3 separate regions of the Homo sapiens genome follow, and regions 1 and 2 are each linked to region 3. Evidence: promoter capture Hi-C in 16 types of primary human blood cells and fetal thymus (Javierre and others, 2016). All regions are on one chromosome and are shown on one strand. The core of a region is centred on a gene start or on the middle of the fragment in contact, and the rest is flanking DNA. Distances in the headings are between cores, read along the strand shown. Region 1 holds the start of CLEC4A (C-type lectin domain family 4 member A). Region 2 holds the start of GDF3 (growth differentiation factor 3). Region 3 holds the start of SLC2A3 (solute carrier family 2 member 3).

Evidence for each region. The method cuts DNA at HindIII sites, captures the fragments that hold promoters and counts their contacts. A CHiCAGO score of 5 or more calls a contact.
Region 1: the fragment with the promoter of CLEC4A here is called in contact with the fragment with the promoter of SLC2A3 in region 3 in 9 of 17 cell types (neutrophils, naive B cells, total B cells and 6 more); the score reaches 12.7 in neutrophils.
Region 2: a contact is called between the fragment with the promoter of GDF3 here and the fragment with the promoter of SLC2A3 in region 3, in 7 of 17 cell types (erythroblasts, M2 macrophages, M1 macrophages and 4 more). The highest score is 13.3, in erythroblasts.

The regions. Positions count from the first base shown.
Region 1 is chr12:8,121,990-8,125,316 of GRCh38, reverse strand. It overlaps CLEC4A (C-type lectin domain family 4 member A), which reads right to left and starts at 1,700. Exons shown (of 6, transcript NM_016184.4): 1 at 1,357-1,700. The coding sequence starts at 1,438. RefSeq lists an enhancer at 1,781-1,830. The HindIII fragment of the contact is 7,899 bases long and covers 1-3,151 here.
Region 2 is chr12:7,694,171-7,697,475 of GRCh38, reverse strand. It overlaps GDF3 (growth differentiation factor 3), which reads left to right and starts at 1,701. Exons shown (of 2, transcript NM_020634.3): 1 at 1,701-2,015. The coding sequence starts at 1,748. RefSeq lists an enhancer at 3,220-3,305. The HindIII fragment of the contact is 5,455 bases long and covers 1,352-3,305 here.
Region 3 is chr12:7,934,753-7,937,710 of GRCh38, reverse strand. It overlaps SLC2A3 (solute carrier family 2 member 3), which reads left to right and starts at 1,524. Exons shown (of 10, transcript NM_006931.3): 1 at 1,524-1,691. The coding sequence starts at 1,677. RefSeq lists a silencer at 1,346-1,395 and an enhancer at 2,463-2,958. The HindIII fragment of the contact is 4,746 bases long and covers 414-2,958 here.

The sequences.
Region 1 (3,327 bases), core at 451-2,950, 190 kb before region 3:
ACCATAATATTTTGGTATATATCTTTCTAGCAATTTTTTGAATGTATATATACACATATGCAAATTTTCCCACGATTGACATACCATAAATACTGATTTCTGACCTATTATTTTCCTTTACACTATATCATGAACATTTTTCATACCATTATATTTTCTTCTTTAACACTCCTTATTATGGTTGCATAGTATTTCATCATATATTTAAATAATGGTTTCCAACTTTAAATAATGCTATAGCAAATAAATCTTTATAATCATTCCTCATCACATGTTTAGAATAAAGTCAGTCTTTTTAGTTACCATCTCATGGTTAGGAATCACTTTCTTCGAGTTATGATATTTTGTCAAATGATGGGGGAAAAAAATTCAGTATTATATAATATGATTACATTTTTAGTAAAATACATATGCACATTATATGTATTTGTATGTGGAAGGATATTCACTAAATTGCAAATTATGATTTTCTCTAGATGATAAGAGTAATTATAATTCAAATATCTGTGTACCTCTGGTTAATTTTTTCTACAATGAACATTAATACTTGTGTAATAAAGAAATTATATAAAGTTTTTAAGGAGAAAAAATTTCCCTAAGTGCTCTCCACACCTTCACAGAGGTATTTTAGAAAGCGTAACTATAGTCCTGACCCCTTCCCCCATAGTTTCTTGTACTCTATATACATTCTTTTCTCTCTTTTGCTCTATACTTGAGATATCACACATGACACCCAAATCACCTTGCATCTACTCCCAAACGTAACAGAGTCTGTCTCAGAGATGCAACACGCAATAGGTTCTCTGATTTCAGAAAAAGTTTCCTGGAGATTTAAGAGACTTTCTTTGTAGACTTTCTAGTCTTTCATTTGCAAAGGCCTTTTGTTACATTTCCATCCATTACCAACAAATATACCCTCACCACTGTCCACCCAAACTCTTTCCCTCTAACTGATCAAAAAACAAATCTCACAAATTCATCAGGACCCCCTGCATCTGGATTGATGGTTTCAGAAGCTGTACTCAATCTCTTAACCCCAGCCCCACTCAGCCTCAGAAAACACAGGGGCATCAGAGCACTCGCCTTAGCTCAGAACTGGAGTGGATTTCTCTCACCTCTGTTTCAGTAAGCAGAGTGGAGGCTGAAGAGAGTGGCACAAAATCTTTTCTTCTCCACAATACAAATGTACACCCCGTAATGCGTATCTGCAGGCCACTCAATCTTCTGGGACTCTTGTGTTTCCCAGACATACTCAATCAGACAACCAGCAACTGAAAACACCTATGCCTTATTCATAAACCCTCTCCTCATCCTTCACCTCGTCATTCACTCTGACCCCTAGAAAATGATCTTTACCTGCAGAAGAGGCTGTGTTGATGCCTGAGGACTTGAATTCATTTTTGAACCTCACTTCAGCATAAGTGATTTCCGAAGTCATAATGGGAAGAGAGCTTCTGCTTTCTTCAGAAAATCTGTTTCAGATCTTTCTTAAAACATCTTATAAACAGGAACCAAACATGGTGGTAAATTACCTCCTTCCTTTCACTCAACTAGTGGAGAGCAGAGGCACCAGATAGGCACATATCCTCAAGAGGGGTCTCATGAGAACTAAGAACCACAATAAAAACTAAAAACCGCAGTTCACAGAAGCCCTTTCCTCAGGACCAGTATAGTGAGAATCACAGCCTTGAAACAAATGCAAGCAAATGCAATAAAAGTGGGAACTCAAAGGGTTGCGGAAAGAGGAAGAAAAATAAAAGAAGAACCAAGCACTTAGAGTCTTTCTGGAGAACTGCGTTTTTCACCAGTAAAAAATACAATTTCTGTGCTTCCACACACAAATGTAATTACTTTTGACCAAACATCCTGAACATAGACTTATGTTGCATTCATCTCATCAATTTTGACTGATCAGGCAACTTGTTAGTACCACATTCTAAGAGTATCATTGACACAAAACTCACATATCAGCCTCCCCACCTTCACGAATTAGTTTCCTGTAGCATGGTGGGGATGGCAAAGTTTAAACCCCATGTCTTCTGAAGCTGTTCCTCCATGCTCTCTGTGTTTCCTTGTTGGTAACTAACTCTATCAAAAGTCTGCATTCATCTTGCTAGAATCTCCAGAAAGCAGCTCCCTTTACTGGATGTTGGAGGAGAGGGAAGGCCAGCCTTTATTCCATGCTTCCCTAACCTTTTAATCGCCACATCACCTCCAATATATATGACTATTTTTTAACAGTTAGGAGAATTATATAGAATCACAGTATAGAAGGGGATAAACTTAAACAAAGTACTAAATATGACTTTTTCCAAAGGCCTAGAAGAAAACACTCCAAATATTAAATCCTTCATGTGGAATCTCTCCATAGACATGCTCCCAGCTCACACCTGGATTCTCTGCCCTCAACTCTCCGCAAATGATCCTCCTTTTAATCTCCCCCAGCTGATTCCTTCTCCTGCATAACACACATGCATACATGCATGCACACACACACAAACACACACGTCTATATTTCTATATTATTTCTATATCTAAATATATTGAACACCATGAGTTCACACTAATTCCTCTAATTCCAATCTAACACCACAAGTTTCATTCTAGTTTTCTCCCTTCCCACATTCCTAACTCCTTTCTGTGACACTAAGAAACCTGCTTTCATTGTCTTTCACTTATTCCTTATTTGATCAATCTCCTGGATGTCGTCAATCTCCCACCTGCTAAGATGTCCCTCTCTTCCTAGTTGGGCTCTGACTCCCCAGTCCAAGCCACCATCCCCTGCGCGGATGCCCTCCCTCCTCACTCTGAGAGTGCCGGCAAAGGGCCAGCCCACTCCCCACCCCCATGAACATCCCCCAACAAACATCCCCCTCACCCTGCCAAGGCTCTGACTCCCTGTGCTAGGCCATTCCTCTGCAGGAAAGCCCTCCTCACTCTGCTTGCACTCTGATTCCTGATGCTGGTCCCCTAGTCACCACTTAGACCCCCTTAGGTTCTAATGCTCCACACAAGGTCACCCTATGGGTGGAAGCCCTCCTCACCCTGGAGGGGTCTGATTTCCTCACCGGGCTATCCTACCACATGGACCACCTCCTTATCCTGCTAAGTTTCTGAAACCCACACCAAGTCCTCCCTCTGCATAGAAGCTTTCTTCATCCTGCTTGGGCTCTGACACTCCATGCAGGTCCTCCATCCCCCAGCAATAATGTCCATCTTACCCTACTTAGGATCTGAGTTCCCTCACTGGGCTACCCCACCACATGGACACCCTCCTTATCATGCTTGGTCTCTGAAACCACACCAGGTCTACCCTCTGCAAGGATG
Region 2 (3,305 bases), core at 452-2,951, 240 kb after region 3:
AATGGGGAAGACCTCACTATATAAAAGAGTGAGACCTCTAGAAATAGCAACCAATTAATTCCTTAATTTATTTTTTGCACAGATACTTATCAAATGTCTGCTACCTGCCGGACACTTTCTTCACCAGTGGAGATACTTTGGGGAAAAAGACACACTGAAGATACTTAGGCAAAGAGACACAGTTCTGATCCTCAAGGTGTGAGTTGTCTGAAAAGGAAGGAGGCAAACACAGTAAAATGCACTGCAGAAACTGTAATGGAGGGCCGGGTGCAGTGGCTCACACCTATAATCCCAACACTTTGGGAGGCCGAGGTGGGTGGATTACCTGAGGTCAGGAGTTTGAGACCAGCCTGACCGACATGGAGAAACCCCGTCTCTACTAAAAATACAAAAGTAGCCGGGCATGGTAGCGCATGCCTGTAATCCCAGCTACTAGGGAGGCTGAGGCAGGAGAATTGCTTGAACCTGGGAGGCAGAGGTTGTGGTGAGCTGAGATCGTGCCATTGCACTGCAGCCAGGGCAACAAGAGCGAAACTCCGTCTCAAAAAAAACAAAAAAACAAAAAAACTGTAATGGATGCCCAAGTATGGCTCAGTGGGAGAAAGAAGTATCTCAATCTATTTTGGTGAGTCGAAACTGTGGAAGTAGAGGTGACCTTTGAACTTGGTCTGTGTAAAGGCTCTGAGATGAAATGAGCTCACAGAGCTACAAATAGGTCAATGTAATTAGAGCATCCACACTAAGGATGGTGGGTGGTGAGAAACAAGGCTGGCGGCTGGGTGTAGTGGCTCATGCCTACAATCCCAGCACTTTGGGAGGCCGAGGTGGGAAGACTGCTTGAGACCAGGAGTTCAAGACCAGTCTGGACAACATGGCAAGGCCCCATCTCTGTAAAAAATAAAACAATTAGCTGGAAGTGGTGCCCTATGCCTGTAGTCTCAACTACTCCAGAGGCTGAGGTGGGATGATCTCTTGAGCTCAGGGGGTCGAGGCTTGCAGTGAGCCAAGATCAGGCCACTGCACTCCAGCCTGGGCAACAGAGCGAGACCCTGTCTCAAAAATAAATAAATACATAAATAAAAATAAAAATAAAAATAAAATAATGAAATCTACTTGAGTATTTGTCTAATCCAGGGGTGTCCAATCTTTTGGCTTCCCTGGGTCACATTGGAAGAAGAAGAATTGTTTTGGGCCACACGTAAAATATACTAACACTAATGATAGCTGATGAGCTTAAAAAAATCACAAGAAAGTTTCATAATGTTTTACGGAAGTTTATGAATCTGTGTGGGGCTGCATTCAAAGCCATCGTGAGCCTCATGTGACCCTCCGGCCGCAGGTTGGACAAGCTTGGTCTATGTAGATGATTAATTACAAGTCTATGAATTATTCACTGCTCTATTCCTAGCACCTATCTCAGCACCGTGCACATAATAGATGCTTAGTAACTGTTTGTTAAATGAATAAATGCATGTCTCCTTTTCACTCTGTCTACTGCTGACAACCTCACATTGTTGTAGAATTTATGTCCATGCATTGGTAATCTTTGTTCTGTGAACTTTTTCCTGGAAGAGTAGAGCAAGAGAAGAGAAAAAAAAATTCCCTCTTCACATCCAATGGCCTTTGAGGAGCTGGGAAGAGAGCAATTCACACTTGATTATCTTACATCAGATAAATTAGCAGCCTCTGAATTGTTGGGCAGTCTGGCAGTGGAGCTCTCCCCGGTCTGACAGCCACTCCAGAGGCCATGCTTCGTTTCTTGCCAGATTTGGCTTTCAGCTTCCTGTTAATTCTGGCTTTGGGCCAGGCAGTCCAATTTCAAGAATATGTCTTTCTCCAATTTCTGGGCTTAGATAAGGCGCCTTCACCCCAGAAGTTCCAACCTGTGCCTTATATCTTGAAGAAAATTTTCCAGGATCGCGAGGCAGCAGCGACCACTGGGGTCTCCCGAGACTTATGCTACGTAAAGGAGCTGGGCGTCCGCGGGAATGTACTTCGCTTTCTCCCAGACCAAGGTAAGGAAATAGAGTGTTATCCAGAAAAACATCTGGAACTGGGTGGTGTGAAGAAAGGAAAGGACAATAGGAAATGACAATTACTGATGGCCTTGTGCTGGTATTTTTCATATTTTGTCTCATTTAATTCCAGCCACGATCCTGAGAGGAAGTTAGATATTCTTATCAAGTTCCTAACAGTAAGGAAATTAGGCTCAGACAGTAGGTAACCTGTAATCTATTCAAGATCATACAGCTAGTGTGTGAGAACAAAGTCAGGATTTGAAATAGGTTTTTGTTTTCTGAATCAACTGCTTTGTGCTTCAGTTGAGATGAAAGAGGTGAGGGAGGAATCAGAGCTCAGTCTCCCACCCTGCAGCCCATATATACACATCCTGCCGTCTTCCATGTGGCAAGCAGGGTATGAAAATTTTGAGGTTGGTTTGCCCAGGAGTCCTGCTTCCCTTATTTGTACCTCCTGGCTACTCTTGTTGGGTGGCAAAGGTTATTCTAGATTTGTGAATAGAGAGCAATAATATATACAACTGTCATATCCTTTTAAAAGGATCTCAGTGAGTGGGATCCAGTACTTTCCCAAACTGACCACCCACCAAATAACTTAGGTCTTCCATTAACAGTAGATCCTCCAACCCCATTCCTGCCCCTAGTTCTCCCCACCCAATTCTTATTCAAAGTCTGAAATGGGTGTTGAGAATCTGCATGTCTATACAACCTCCCGGGTGTTTCAGATGCAGAATTTAGAGCCTTGGTTAGTTTTACAGCAACTGGAGAGAAGATTTGAATATTTATTTGTCCAAGAAGCACTTATTGGATACCTATGGTGAGCCAGGAACTGTGTATGGCCTTGAGAATACAAGATAAAGTTTGCCTTTTTTTTTTTTTTTTTTTTTTGAGAGTCTCGCTCTGTCCCCCAGGCTGGAGTAGAGTGGCACTTTCTCAGCTCACTGCAACCTCCGCTTCCTGGGTTCAAGTGATTCTTCTGCCTCAGCTTCCCAAGTAGCTGGGATTACAGGCGTGTGTCACCAAGCCCAGCTAATTTTTTAATTTTTTAATTTTTTAGTAGAGACAGGGTTTCACTATATGTTGGCCAGGCTGGTCTTGAACTCCTGACTTCAGGTGATCCGCCTGCCTCAGCCTCCCAAACTGCTGGGATTACAGGCCTGAGCCACCGCACCCAGCCCAGAATTACCTTTTAAAAATGCGTATTGAGTCGTACTGCTCCTCCACGTAAAATTCTCGTCTGCAAAATTCTGCAAGAGTTGACCCACCATGCCCTGCCTGTTCTGACCC
Region 3 (2,958 bases), core at 275-2,774:
TTGCTCTGTCGCCCAGGCTGGAGTGCAGTGGCGCTGTCTTGGCTCACTGCAAGCTCCGCCTGCCGCGTTCACGCCATTCTCCTGTCTCAGCCTCCCGAGTAGCTGGGACTGCAGGCGCCCGCCACCATGCCCGGCTAATTTTTTTTTTTTTTTTTTTTTTTTTTGTATTTTTAGTAGAGAATGGTTTCACCGTGTTAGCCAGGATGGTCTTGATCTCCTGACCTCGTGATCCGCCCACCTCGGCCTCCCAAAGTGCTGGGATTACAGGCGTGAGCCACCGCGCCCGGCCTTTTTTTCTATTATTCACTGAAGAATCACCAGCTTCTTGGAGAGTACCTGATACATAGCGTGTATTCGGCAAATACCTGCTTAATTGAATTCGGTATTTATTGCATTTCTAGATGCTATAAGCTTGAGACTAGCAGAAAGTGATGCAGAATTCAGAATGGGTGATATGGCAAATGCCTTATTAAATATAGGGCTCGGCGCGGTGGCTCACACTTGTAATCCCAGCACTTTGGGAGGCCAAGGCGGGCAGATCACAAGGTCAGGAGTTTGAGACCAGCCTGGCCAATATGGTGAAACCCCGTCTTTACTAAAAATACAAAAATTAGCGGGGCGTGGTGGCGGGCGCCTATAGTCCCAGCTACTCGGGAGGCTGAGGCAGGAGAATTGCTTGAACCCGGGAGGCGGAGGTTGCAGTGAGCCGAGATCGCACCACTGCACTCCAGCCTGGGCGACAGAGAGAGACTCCATATCAAAAAAAAAAAAAAAAAAAAAAAAAGGATATGGATTGTATTCCATAAACAGTTGAACCTCTTATTCCTACTGCCCTGATAGTTGGTCTGGCTCCTAGAAATTCAGATTTTCTTCCCTCCAGGTGAGATTATGCGAAGAAAGGAACACTGGCAAAATTATTTCCCTGATTTTCTTCTCTCAGGCTGTCTTTCCCTCCCCTTTAAGATTGTGTACTCCGTCTCAAAAAAAAAAGAAAAAAAAAAGATTGTAGACCCAGCCTATAAATTCATAGGATCAAGAATTCTTACTAACACTCTTTCTAACAACCTTAAATCTCTGATAGTAGCACCCACTTGACTTCGTTTTGTATGGATAGATTTATTCTAATCTCTCTGTAGATTGTTTTAATCCCAAGCAGATGCGAGAGCATAAAATAGTGTATTTGCCCTCCCTCCAGGCTTTTCTGGTAGTATTTTGTCTGTGAAACTAAGAGGCTCTAGCTGCTATTAGAAGAGGGAAGGAGTAAGGATGAGCTTTTGAAAAAAAAAAAAAAAAAAAAACCCAGGGTGGAGAGAGTGGAAGGATGTGGTTTTAAGAGAGGGGGGAGGGAGGGCGTTATTGTCTGTGGGGCGGGGGCGGGGGTAGTTCTGATAACACAGAATTCCGAGAGATCACAAGATTGCTTCAGGGGGGTGGGGTGGGGTGGGGTGGGGCTGGGGGCTTGTCGCCCTTTCAGGCTCCACCCTTTGCGGAGATTATAAATAGTCATGATCCCAGCGAGACCCAGAGATGCTGTAATGGTAAGACTTTGGATCCTTCCTGAGGACGTGGAGAAAACTTGCTGCTGAGAAGGACATTTTGAAGGTTTTGTTGGCTGAAAAAGCTGTTTCTGGAATCACCCCTAGATCTTTCTTGAAGACTTGAATTAGATTACAGCGATGGGGACACAGAAGGTAAGAATGATATAATTACTGGTTATTTTTGCTTGTTTGGGATACACTCAGAAAGGCAAATATTAATGGTAATCTCCTTGTTCTATTTTCTCCTAAGTCACCAAGCTATCTTAAGGCCTTTTCATTTCGTCTCTAGCCTGCACTGCTGCCGCTTCATCAGTTCTCTTTGAATGTCATACAGTTCTGTTCACCTTATCATAGGAAAGTCACCCGGAGAAGTTGTGTTTGCTTCTCAGGTTTATTTTAGGTAACCATATGCCACTGAGGACGAGATGGTTGAGTGTTTAGAGGATCGGGCTGCTTGGTTGTATGGATTACAAGTGTGGGTCTCAGAGCCAGTGTGAAGACTTCTCTGGAAGCATTAGACCTTGAAAAGGTCTGTGTTTGGAGGCACAGGCCAGGGTCTGGCCATCTGTTTGTCCTATAACATATGGGGTTCGTGGATGCTAAGGAGAAAGAATTCCAGTTGTCCTTCCTATTAGGGTTAAAATCGTGAGTGCAGGACATACTAAAATATTGAGTGTTGTATATGCATTATTTGCAGGGAGAAAGGCTTTTCTTTTTTTTCTGATTGAGTTTTACTCTTGTTGCCCAGGCTGGAGTGCAATGGAGCGACCGCAGCTCACCACAGCCTCCGCCTCCCGGGTTCAAGCGATTCTCCTGCCTCAGCCTCCTGAGTAGCTGAGATTACAGGCATGAACCACCGGGCCCGGCTAATTTTGTATTTTTAGTAGAGACGGGGTTTCTCTATGTTGGTCAGGCTGGTCTCGACTCCCGACCTCAGGCGATCCGCCGGCCTCGGCCTCCCAAGGTGCTGAGATTACAGGCATGAGCCACTGCGCGCAGCAAGAAAGGCATTTTTTACCAAGATAAATTTAACTAAAAATAAGGGGCCAGGTGTGGTGGGTCACACCTATAACCCCAGCATTTGGGAAACCAAGGCAGGAGGATCACATGAGGCCTGGAGTTTGAGACTAGCCTTGGGCAATATAGTGAGATCCCATCTCTACAAAGCAGAAAGAAAGAAAATGTAGGAAAATAAGAAAGGGATGGAAAATTATGAGACTAAAGAAGAAAAGGCTCTCAAAGATAGTGAATGATGAGAGGAGACAGAAGAGATTTTTACTAAACGGAAAAAGATTTAACAGAGCATTGCACTGGCAGGGCCCTCCGGGGTACCGATGCTTAGCTGGGACTGAGACATCTGGGAGGCTGCAGGCAAGGTCACTTCTCCTGCTGAAGCTCCCAGCCTGCTGCCTAATCTGCC